Linked DNA regions of Homo sapiens: regions 2, 3 and 4 are each linked to region 1. The links are contacts of gene promoters, found by promoter capture Hi-C in human tissues and cell types (Jung and others, 2019). All regions are on one chromosome and are shown on one strand. Each heading gives the region's core, a stretch centred on a gene start or on the middle of the fragment in contact. The rest is flanking DNA. Distances are from core to core; before and after follow the strand shown.

Region 1 (3,060 bases), core at 238-2,737:
TGAAGTCATCAGGCCAAGGTAATGCTTCCCAGAGGTGTAACCGCTGTGTGTGTGTGTGGCGTGGCGGGGGGGGGCGGGGGGAAGGGGGCGGAAACGCGCAGTACTTTGCAGGTCAGCCCCTGGGGACTGGGATGGCTGACTACCTGGTATTGCACTAAAATGCTTGACCCCTAATCACATCCCCCAACACTACACCTTGTGCGACGTGATGAAAGCATCATTTCCAGTTTATTCGACTTTTCTGTTTAGACTTATTCATTATAGCCCATATATGTGATAAGGACTAAGAACCCAGTCTTCAAGGTCCTGTCGAGTTCCAAAGAAGTCCACCCCTCAGAAGATCCTTGGAAGGGGAAGAAGGAAAAAAGAAAGAAAGAAAAATCTGTTTTACCCTATAACAATTTCAGCGCAATCTCCCAAGACCAAGTTGGTTAATTTGTAAAGTCACTCTCATTTTTTCCTCAACAGTGCCACCTACTGTCCATTTTCAGTCATCAGCAGGCTTGTTGGCAAGGTCCAAGAGAAAGAAAGGAGGCGGAGTGGTGGGGGGAGGAGTAACCAAAAAACGAACTCTACCCAGCCTTGGGGCATTGTGAAAACGACGAGGAAAGGCCATCTCCAAGCAAGACATATTTGTCCTCGTCAACTTTGCAGAAGGCTTGCAAAAAGCAAAAGCCAGTTAAGCCATTTCCTTCAAGATGGCTAAATATAAGTCCTCCAGAAAACAATTTTTATTATTTTATTTTTAATGCGCGCTGTTTGAGTATGTTTACGTTAGGGGACCAGATTGAGCAAAAATATACATATAATTACTTTTCTATGTTTTCCGCCCACCCACGGCAGAAACCTCTTTATGAGAAAGGCTTTGACACTTGACGTCAGCTCAGAAACTTTTGAGTTGGCGGGAAGAAAGGGTTAACAAGTGGTGGACCAGCGCGATCTTTTTAGAGTCCCAGCCGGCTGTCGAAGGCTCCAGGTACACACACACACGCACACACTTACACACACACACACACACGTGCACACACCCCTCCCAACTGTTCCTCCTTGGGTCGGTTACTTAGCTGAAGGGCACCATTTGGCTTTAAAACAAATTACTTCAGCGCCACAGGGAGTTTATCGCTTGGAGGGAACTTGTAACGCGGGAGTTCAGGGAAATCCAAGAGGCGAGGGCTCCCACCTCCGCCGCCAGAGGAAAGTAAGGAATCAGGTGGTGGCCCCCTATGTGTCTTGCATTTCTCTGCACACGTTAGCAATCAAGTTAATTGAATTCATTGGAGTTTAGAACCGGCCTGTAGCTCAGAGAAGGCTTTGAATGGCCAATTTCTCTCTCTCCCTCTCCCCCTCCCCGCCTCCCGCTCGCCCGCCCGCCCGCGCTCCCAGTTCCCTCCCCTCAGGGTTCCCCAGTCCACACCTCCCTCTCCACTTCCCTCACCCCCCCACTCCCTCCGCCGCCCTATTAAAACACCCACCAGCTCACTTGTTAAGACCCCCTTAAGTTGGAGGAGGCAGAAGGGCAACAACGGCGGGGAAGGAGAAGTCAAGACGTCTGGAAAGAATTACCCAGTCCTGGCTTCGAGCAGCCCATTGAACCAGAGACTTGAAACAGCCCCAGCCAAAGACTTTTCTCCCAATTCTGCGCTTCCTGGGTTCTGCTGAGTCTTCCACAGGCTTTTTTTTTTTTTTTTTTTTTTTTTAAGACGAAAAAGAGATTTTCTGTTATCGGGGGCAGAAAGACTGAAGCCCAAAAAAAAAAAAAAAAAAAAAAGAAAAGAAAAGAAAAAAGAAAAGTTAATTTATTTTTAAAGCATAATTTTTTTAAGAATTAGACTGAAGTGCAACGGAAACATAAAGAGAATATTAGTGAAATTATTTTTTAAAGTGGGGAAGAATCAAACATTTAAGACTCCCCTATCCTTTTTAAATGTTGTTTTTAAATTTCTTATTTTTTTTGGCCGGTCGTCTCAAATTCATCTGATCTCTTATTACCTCAATTTTGGAAACTGCCCGCCACCGACCCTCCGGGACCACACAGACAGGCTGAGGACGACTTTATGACCAAGAGCTGAACAAGGTACGTTACACTGGCGCGTTTTGGTGAAGGATGAAGGTCCTCCAACAGGCCAGGGAGAAGGAAGACATCCTTATAATTGTTTTAAAATTTTTAAGCCAGTTTCGATAGAAAAGTTGGAAGTTTAAAAATTTCCAACAGACTGAAGATCAGGGAATATTTCAGGTCACTGTCAGGCTTAGCAACATAGCCCTCTTTTCCCATTTCTGCGGCTCTCGCCAGAAATCCGCTGCCTTTCTGGGGACACAGGTAGCCTCTCTGCCTGGGAAAGGCTGCACGTCCTCAGATGTACTTTTCCATTTTGCATCTTCCGGAGCAGCAGAGGGGCTCCAGAGTTAGGAAACAAGAATTCCCAATGTAAGGAAAATGCATTCTGCACAGCCGCCCCACCCCTTCCCTTCTTTTTTTCCCACACACACACACACACACACACACTGTGGGGAGAAAAACTGGAATAGCCCAGCGCGTTTTACTTCTAAGTGAAAAAGTCGCTTCTTGCTGGGAATGCAAAGGGTTAAGCAATCTGGGCTTCCAGCTCCGACAAGCTGGGACCCTGGAGAAGGAGGGTCCTTCTCTACCTCCTCGCAGCTACCATCCCCTCTCGGCCACTCCCCCCTTTCCCGGGCCTCCCCTCCTTTGCACTTCCCGCACCCCATTAAAGTGTCAGGCTCGTCAGTCTGGGCTTACTCGGGCCAGGGGTCCCTGACGCAGGCGGTGGCACCCGCAGATAGGAGCGGGAGGAGGGCGCGCATCCCTCCTCTCCTCGCCGGGCCAGCCCGCCGGCCGCCCGGAGGCAGGGCGTGCGTGGGGACCGCGCGCTGCGCTTCGGCAGCTGCGGCGTCCCCAGAGCCAATTCCGACGTGGCACCGCGCACGCCGGCGCTTCTCTCCTCAGCTGCAGCTGGGGACACTGCCCGGTGGGAGATCTGGGGGCGCCGTCTCGAGCGCCCAGCCGATGAACGGGGCGAGGGGCCTGTGGGAGCTGGGGTG
Region 2 (3,060 bases), core at 357-2,856, 590 kb before region 1:
ACACTGGAATTATAGCAGAGATTAAGAGAGAGACTGCTCCTACACTTATATTCCATAGATTCTGGTGGGAATAAAGACATACAACAGCAGATTGGAGTGCTATTCTTAGAAGTGAGTGCAGAATAGGAGTGTCACATGCTTGGAAAACCTATCATGAAGTGTCACATTTAGTTGTGTTCTTAACAAAACAGCAACAGCTTTATAAGAGTGAGTGGGAAACAGACAAAAGAGTGGATATAGAGTCCAGAGAGGTAAGGTTTGGCCAGTCAAGAAGAAAGGAATCACAACACAAGAAGAAAACATGCTCATGCTAGAAAAAAAAAAAGACATGTTATACATTTCTTTCTATTCTCAGGAAACCTCTGAAACAAATAGTCATAGTGTCAGTTTATATTAAGTATTGAAGGTTGACTACATACAACGTATTTTGTAAACCATGAAAAATGTCTAAGTCAAAAGGGTCAAGTTTAGGGTCTTTATCCTTCCCAGCAGGATCCTTGAAGTGGGCAAGTATCTATTCAGACAGAAACCAGCAAGGAGAGTAAGGAGACAAGCAATAAATAAGAATTAACTACTAGCTTTGGGAAAACTACTTTAACCAGTTCAATGAACAGATTAAATTTAATGTAAACCATTCAGGAAACAGTTTTTTTAAAAAAAAAACTGTAAATCTCAATACTTTTATCTGATCTTCCTTCTCTGCCCCAAATAATATATCTGGAATATTCCATCACTTTCTTTGTTAGATTTTGGTGTTAGAATAGTCAAATTTGCAGGTATTAAATAGTTCAGTAAAATCTAATATCAAAATTCAGGTTCAATTTAGATTTTCTTGCAACCAGCAGCCAATTTGGTACTGACTGTATTCCATATTTTCATGAACTAGCATGAAAGTGTGTGTGGGTGGGTGGGGCATGTTTAATTCCCTGTGCTTGACTACTTACCATATTTACTCTTCTTCTAGTTCCTCTGAATTTGGGGAACCAGGGACAAGAGAAATTTGAGAGGAAAGGGTAAAGTCTGCCTTGACTAGAGCAGGTATAAATCTGGCTGGTGGTATCTGTTAGAAATGTAAAATGCTTGCTCCCTGGTGCTGCAAAGAAATAGCACTCGAACATAAATTTAATTTTCTCAACAAGGCAATTTTTGCTTTCTGCAGAAAGGGTGCTCCTCACGGATGGAACAATGGCAACAGCACACCTGGACAGGGGAGGGGAAGGAGTGCTTATTCCTGACACAGGGCCCTACTGCTGTGTCATTCCCCTATTGGCTAGGGTTGGACCTCACAGTCTAAGCTAATTCTGATTGGCTATTTTAAAAAGAGCAGGACTACGAGCCAGAGTAGTGGGGTGAGTAGTTTGGCAGGAAGGGCGGTTACAGAACTGGTGGCTCAGGATGAGTCAGGATGGAGCGGGTGACCAGGGGTGACTCAGGTCAAAACAGGTGACTAGGGTGACTCAGGTCAAAGCAGGTGACAAGGGAAACAGACGTGAACTACTGATTAGGACTGGCGGGAAAGTTGTTTACTGAAACTAGAAGGAAGGGAGCAAAGAGAACCAAGAAGTTAAACTTTAAAATGGAGAGTCAAAGAATAAGAGAGCTGAACATACTGACATACTGATTCTTTGAAGAGAAACTTGGGGGTCACTATATTTAACAGTATCTGTGATAGAAGAGAAATCCAGTCCTCACCCTGACACCACAGGACACATGAAAGTTCAAAGGATACTAGCATTCAGACTCTGGAACATTAATTACCCTTCAGAGTTTGTTCTACATGGAACCAAAGCGTTCTAACACCCTCCCCTCACAATTTATTAATATTTCTTGCTACTTACCCACCTTATATTTTTTAAAGATATGTATATTTATATATTTGTTATATATATATATATATATATATATATATATATATATGCTATATTATCTCCTTAAACTTTTCACCACATTTATGCCAACATCTATTATTTTTTAATTTTTAAATTATGGCCATTCTTGCAGGAATAAGGTGGTATTGCACTGTGGTTTCAATTTGCATTTCCCTAATAATTAGAGACGTTGAGCACTTATATGTTTCTTGGCCATTTGTATATCTTCTTTTGAGAATAGTCTATTCATGTTTTTTGCCCACTTTTTGATAAGATTGTTTTATTCTGCTGACTTAAGTTCCTCGTAGATTCCGGATATTAGTCCTTTGTTGAATGCATAGTTTGCAAATATTTTCTCCTACTCTGTGGGTTGTCTGTTTACTCTGTTGATTACTTGTTTTACTGTGCAGAAGCTTTTAGTTTAGTTAGGTCCCATTTATTTATTTTTGTTTTTGTTGGGTTTGGTTTTGGGGTCTTAGTCATGAATTTTTTGCCTAGGCCAATGTTCAGAAGGGTGTTGCTAATGTTATCTTCTAGCATTTTCATGGTTTCAGGCGTTAGACTTAAGTCTTTGATCCATCTTGAGTTGATTTTTGTATAAGATGAGAGATGGGGCTCCGGTTTCATTTTTCTACATGCGGCGTGCCAGTTTTCCCAGCACCATTTATTGAATAAGGCCTTTTTCCCCAATTAATGTTTTTGTATGCTTTGTCAAATATCAGTTGGCTATAAGTATTTTGCTTCATTTCTGGGTTCTTTATTCTGTTCCGTTTGTCTAAGTGCCTCTTTTTATACCAGTACCATCCTGTTTTGGTAGCTGCAGCCTTGCAGTTACCAAATTTAAAGTCTGGTAATGTGATGCCCCAGAGTTGTTCTTTTTGCTTAGTATTGCTTTGGCTATGTGGGCTCTTTTTTGTTTTCATATAAATTTTAGGATTTTTTTTCTAATTCTGTGAAAAATGATGATGGTATTTTGATGGGAATTGTATTGAAATCTGTAGATTTCTTTGGGCAGTATGGTCATTTTCACAGTATTGATTCTCCTATCCATGAGCTTGGGATGAGTTTCTATTTGTTTATGTCACATATCAGGGGATCACAACCCCCAGGTGGCAGATTGGCGCCAGTCAGTGGCTTGTTAGAAACCTGCCACACAGCAGGAGGTGAGTATTACTGCCTGAGCTCTGCCTCC
Region 3 (3,060 bases), core at 375-2,874, 550 kb before region 1:
GGGCTTCTCATTTCCTAGTAACAATTTCTATTATGTTTTTGAAGTTAAGCCTTAATTAAAACAACAGTTAAAGCTTAATGAAGTATAGTTCGGATTCTTTTTTAAAAGGCAATAAGTAAATATTTTATGCATGAAAATTTTGAAGATCCTACCATCCAGGAATTCAGTCATATAGCCAATATTTATCAAAAGCCTCTATATATCTGGTTAAGTGCTAAGGATGGAGAATACAAATGTGGATTTCTTTTTTGCTACCCTTAAGTTACTCAACGTTAGGCAAAGAAAAACATCAAGAGCAACCAACATTTTTAACAAACAATTACAATTTGAAAAGCACTAACAGGCCGGGCATGGTGGCTCACACCTGAAATCCCAGCACTTTGGGAGGCCAAGGCAGGCGGATCACCTGAGGTTGGGAGTTCGAGACCAGCCTGACCAACATGGAGAAACCCCATTTCTACTAAAAATACAAAATTAGCTGGGCATAGTGGCGCATGCCTATAATCTCAGCTACTCGGGAGGCTGAGGCAGGAGAATCACTTGAACCCAGGAAGCGGAGGTTGCAGTGAGTCGAGATCAAGCCATTGCACTCCAGCTTGGGCAACAGGAGCGAAACTCTGTCTCAAAAACAAAAACAAAAAAAAAAGAAAAGAAAAGAAAAGCACTAAGATCCAGATCTGGATGTTTTATGATGATAAAGAACTTGGTATTTAATTCTTCCCAGAAAAAATATCTAAAATTGTCAGGTTAATACGTTTTAAAGAGGGCTATGCCAACTGGAGAGGAAAATTAGAACATACTTGTAAAGTCCCATTAATTCATTATATGACAGCTTGTTGGACACATTTTTGTTATATATAAATAGAATAATAGTACTACATACTTTCAATTTTTAAAAATATGCAAGTAGATAAGAAAATGCTTTCTTAAACAGTAATAATGTTGCTAAAAAATTATTATTAGCCTATCAGCAATCTTTTTCAATCTTATTTTCCCTCTTTTATGTGGAAGAGAGTATCAACTGACAAATATAACAGCTATCACACTTTATATAATTTTATTGTGTTTTCATGAAAGTAAAAACAAACTCTCATTTTACATCAGAGTGCTAAGGATAGGGAATAGAAATGTGGATTTCTTTTTCACTACCTTTAAGTTGCTTAAGTTACTCAATGTTACTAAAAACAATGTTACATGTCTCTTTCAGGTGAAAAGACAGTATCTCTATTCAAACTCGCCCAAGAAAAAATAAATTCATCGATGAAAGCCATTTAATTTATTGGCACATGCCATATCATAATCAGACAAAACTGACTCAAGAATCTCAAAGGAGGTTAACTAAACTATTTATCTTCCCATAATTCAATTCCACTGTAGAAAGTGCTTAAAGATATGCCTGAGACATAGTAGCCATTCTGTAAGTGTTAAAGAAAAATAAATGAATAAACAAATAATTACATCCCATTGTGGATTAGTCTCATTTGACTTTATTGCAAGCATTTTAAAGGGCTACATAAGATAAATATTAGGAGTCCTAAATGTATATTCTTCTATTTTAGAAAACACAGTGGGAAGAGATCAGTTTGGCCACTGTCGTTAATTCTATGGAATCAGCCTGATTTTCCCCTCGTGTCATATGCCTATACTTGAACAAATACTTGGGTCCAGCAATATTAGATACTATAATTGGAACTCACATCATGTGGAACAAGAAGGGGTATCTCACTGCTACAAGGGCACAGACAATATGTATCTACCATATTTCACTTTTTGAATACCCAGAATCCCCATCATTTCTTATTTCAAGGGCGCAATCCCAAAAAAAAGATCACAAAGGTGAACTTCTGCTTCCAACCAAGATGGAGTAATATGAAGGAATGGGGGAACAATGTTTTTTTGTTTTTTTTTTTTTTTTGAGATGGAGTCTCGTTCTGTCGCCCAGGCCGGACTGCAGTGGTGCCATCTCAGCTCACTGCAAGCTCCGCCTCCCGGGTTCACGCGTTCTGTAGCCTCAGCCTCCTGAGTAGCTGGGACTACAGGCACCGGCCAACAGGCCCGGCTAATTTTTTGTATTTTTAGTAGAGATGGGGTTTCACTGTGTTAACCAGGATGGTCTCTATCTCCTGACCTCGTGATCTGCCCGCCTCGGCCTCCCAAAGTGCTGGGATTATAGGCCTGAGCCACCGCACCCGGCCTGGGGGAACAATTTTAACCCAATAAGAATGTTTTTAAAAAGCCAGAATCCAAACACACACAAAAACAGTTAACATCTTAGTAGTGTAAGAATAAAAACATTCCTCCTAAGATCAGGAACGAAACAGAGATGGACTCTTTAACTACTTCTATTCAACATTATACCTAAAGTTCTTGTCAGTGCAATAATGCAAGAAAAAAAGAAATAACACATTTCCAGATTGCTAAAAAGGACACAAAATTGTCTTGATTTGCAGACCACATGATCATGATACCACTTATAGACAAATCTAGGAAATTCAAGCTCATGTGGAATGACAAAATCATATCAGTGGTTTTCTGGAGACATGGAAATAGTCAGGAGAGGATTTGAAGCAAGAGATTACAAAAAGGCAAAAGGAAATTTACAGGGACGACAGGTGTGTTGATTACCTTGATTGTGCTGCTCATTTCATAGCACAATATATAAGTCAAAACTTACCAAATTTTTCACTTTAAATGTGTTTAATATATGCCAATTGTATCTCAATAAAATGGTTTTATAAAAAGCAAAACAAAATATTTTCATAATATGTGTTAGAGTTCATCAGAGAAACAGAAATACATACACACACACACACACACACACACACACACACACACACACACAGAAAAAGAGAGAGAGAGAGATGGAGAAATGGAGAGAGGTTTTAACGCACTAGCTCATGCTACTGTGGAGCTGGCAAGTCTGAATCTGTAAGGCAAGCCAGCAGGCTGAAAACTCAGGATTTTGCTGTTGCAGTTTTGAGGCAGAATTCCTTCTTTGGGAAACCTCAGTGTTTGTTCTTAAGGGTTGCTTGCAGCCCACCTATATTGTGGAAAGTGCTA
Region 4 (3,060 bases), core at 386-2,885, 530 kb before region 1:
CACCGGGCTAATTTTTGTATTTTTAGTAGACATGGGGTTTCACCATTTTGGTCAGGCTGGTCTTGAACTCCTGACCTCAGATTATCTGCCTGCCTTGGCCTCCCACAGTGCCGGAATTACAGGTGTGAGCCACCACACCCAGCCCAGCATGTATGTACTTTTTACAGAATTAGGCTAAGTTATATTTACAACTTTCTATCTCAGATTTTTTAACATTATAGGGAAAGTATTTGTCAAGCAGTCAGATATTCAATTTATAATTGTACAAGTCATATAATCATTAAATATTTTCTCATGTTGAATATTTAGATGCTTTCAATTGCTTTCTATTAAAATACCACTTTATGTGAAGAGCCTTACAATTAAAATGTTGATGGCCCCATGACCATTTTTAATACAAACTTTTAGAGGCAGAATTATTTACATAAAGGTCATAGATATTTTAGGGCTTGTAATATATATTACTAAATTCATTTGCGGATTAAAAAGACAGTTTGCATTCAGTTCTGCATATCTATGGCAGAATCTTCTATACCTACCACATAACTATTTTTAATTCTAAACAGAAGTGTGTATGATATCCTGCTATCAAAATTCTTCCTGTAGAATACTTCTTCAAAAAAAAAAAAAAAAAAAGACAAACACCACTTTCTAAATTTTAATGGAAAAATGCAGTGGAAGTTATGTCCTGGTTGTAGAATGAGCTGCACTTTGAACAAGTCAAATTTAAGAAGGCAGAGAAAAAATGTAAAGTATAGATAAAAATTAAGTATTTGGGGACCCAGTAGACAATCATTTGATTAGAGTAGAAAATTAACTGGGGAAATAGTGTGAGACATAGTTGCATTGACTGTGAAAAAAGCAATTAAATACATTTCTCCTGCATACTTGTGTGATTTATTTTCTACCCAAAAAAAGCATAACAGTAATTACAGATATAAAGGTATTCCACAAATCCTAAACAGGGATTACAATCAGTTTGGTATTGGTTTTTCCATTGCAATGATGCCCTCCCACTTTTCATATGGCTATATGTATCATAGGCTGGCAATGTTAGAAATTTCTTACTCTCCACATGGAAATACAGTAGCTACAAATCTTACAGAACAGGTACTCAAAAACCAGATCCTACAGTGAGTTGTAAAAGCCACAGAAATATTAGAAATAGAATTGTGCATCAGTTAAGCTTCTTTATCTCTATTTTGACAGGAGAGTTGTTCTGGGTTTATAGGAGCCTGAAAGTCTAGAAAAGATTAAAAGCCGCTGTTTACCTCTGTTAATCTTCCTAATCAGCAAGTACCAGGTACCTTATGTAATGGAACTGAGATTTCTAAGGCACTGCTTCTAAGTAGGAATCACACTGCAGTGGGTTAGTGACACCCTGCTCAGAAATGGTGCCTGTGCAAAATGTTTCAACTAGCTCCCAGGAGAGCAAAGTCAGCTAGTGTTCACAAACAAACAAAAAAGATTAAAATGTATCCTGAAAGTAGAGCTATGTTTTTCAAAGTCTGGTCTGGGGACCACCTGATTTAGACCTAGAGCAATGGTTCTTAAATTTTTGTTTAGATCCAAAACATGAAGAGAGTTGTAACATCCACCCTTTTCGGGATCCCATCCTCAGAAAAATAATCTACATTTTGGACTATTGTATGATATTAATACAAGTGTGATTTATAGTATCACACTTTGAGAAATACTGGCCTACAGTTAATTGGGGTACTTTGTTCAAAGAGAATCAACACTTTCTGATTCATCAGATCTTAAGCTTGTCCTCAAAATTTAACAACTTAGGAAATACACCCATAACTTATACTAATGCAAGTCAAGTCTTTCATGAAGAGGAAGTTTCTTTTTAAAAGGCAACTCAGTTTTCACCTTAAAATCAATATGTGAGAATGCATTATTAATTCCTTTAAGTCATGATATTTTGAATAAATATTAATCATCTTCACACAAAGAAACAGTTTATGTATATATTTTACATTGATATCAATATTTTGATGTAGGCCTGCAACTCTAGGTAAGTTATTTAAATTATTTGATCCTTAGTATTTTAGGGCAAAATGAGATATTTGAACATTATTGCTGAAAACCCAAACTTTCTTGTTTTTTAATTTATTTTGTTTGCTTTTCAAATTATCTTAAAAGGAAAACATGTTAGAATTCACTTTATAAACTGTTTCTCATTACTGAAAAACAAAACAGATTCGATCAGTGGCAATCAACTCTTGCCACTTATTATAATCATGTGGGGAACTGTTAAAATAATATCTGAGTTTGGGCCTCACACCAGACTAGTTGAATCAGAATCTCTAGAGATGGGATCAGTGTATCATACTTCTTTTGTAAGTCTCTAGATGATTCCAGTGAATGACCTGCATTGAGAATTGCTGGCATGGTTTATTGGCAAGACAACTTTTGGTTCTAAGATTAAAATTTACCTTCTGCATTGAGCATTGTTTACATTTCTATCCCAGCTAAAGCTTGATTTTCAGCTCATCTTTTCTTTAGTTGTATAAAATGGTTCTTTTTTCTCTATTTGCTGGAAATAGACACTAATGAAAGAGAAATATCTAAATCAGTATTTCATAAGTGACAAGCTGCAGTTATATGACAAAATATTTAGAAGCCTACTATGAGAACAGAAAAAACTAGAGTGAAACAGTTGATTTTTCCTGAAATCCATTTTTTTTTTGTCTGAAATAACTTTCTGGTTTTTTTTGTTGTTTGTTTTGTTTTTGAGACAGAGTCTTGCTCTGTCCCAAAGGTTGGAGTGCAGTGGCACAATCATCTTGGCTCACTGCAACCTCCACCTCCCGGGTTCAAGGAATTCTCCTGCCACAGACTTCCGAGTCTGGGATTACAGGTGCCCACCACCACACCCAGCTAATTTTTTTGTACTTTTAGTAGAGACAGGGTTTCACCATATTGGCCAGGTTGAGGTCGAACTCCTGACCTCAAGTTGTCCACCCTCCTTGGACTCCCAAAGTGCTGGGATTACAGATGTGAGCCACAATGCCTGGCCAACTTTCTGTTATTTTGAGATAAGCATTTGTTTTT

What was found. Contacts are between HindIII fragments. The study calls those that stand out against the background at their distance.
Region 2: a contact is called between a fragment that was not itself captured here and the fragment with the promoter of HAS2 in region 1, in 1 of the 25 tissues and cell types used here (H1 embryonic stem cells).
Region 3: a fragment that was not itself captured here is called in contact with the fragment with the promoter of HAS2 in region 1 in 1 of the 25 tissues and cell types used here (mesendoderm cells).
Region 4: a fragment that was not itself captured here is called in contact with the fragment with the promoter of HAS2 in region 1 in 2 of the 25 tissues and cell types used here (H1 embryonic stem cells and mesenchymal stem cells).

What each region holds. Positions count from the first base shown.
Region 1 is chr8:121,639,867-121,642,926 of GRCh38, reverse strand. HAS2 (hyaluronan synthase 2) reads left to right here and starts at 1,487. Exons shown (of 4, transcript NM_005328.3): 1 at 1,487-2,074. It also overlaps HAS2-AS1. RefSeq lists enhancers at 205-828, 3,030-3,060. The HindIII fragment of the contact is 13,134 bases long and covers 1-3,060 here.
Region 2 is chr8:122,230,696-122,233,755 of GRCh38, reverse strand. No RefSeq gene overlaps it. Among named protein-coding and RNA genes, the nearest start is that of SMILR, 340 kb to the left of the region's middle. The HindIII fragment of the contact is 5,557 bases long and covers 1-3,060 here.
Region 3 is chr8:122,192,847-122,195,906 of GRCh38, reverse strand. No RefSeq gene overlaps it. Among named protein-coding and RNA genes, the nearest start is that of SMILR, 370 kb to the left of the region's middle. The HindIII fragment of the contact is 4,191 bases long and covers 1-3,060 here.
Region 4 is chr8:122,168,677-122,171,736 of GRCh38, reverse strand. No RefSeq gene overlaps it. Among named protein-coding and RNA genes, the nearest start is that of SMILR, 400 kb to the left of the region's middle. The HindIII fragment of the contact is 4,132 bases long and covers 1-3,060 here.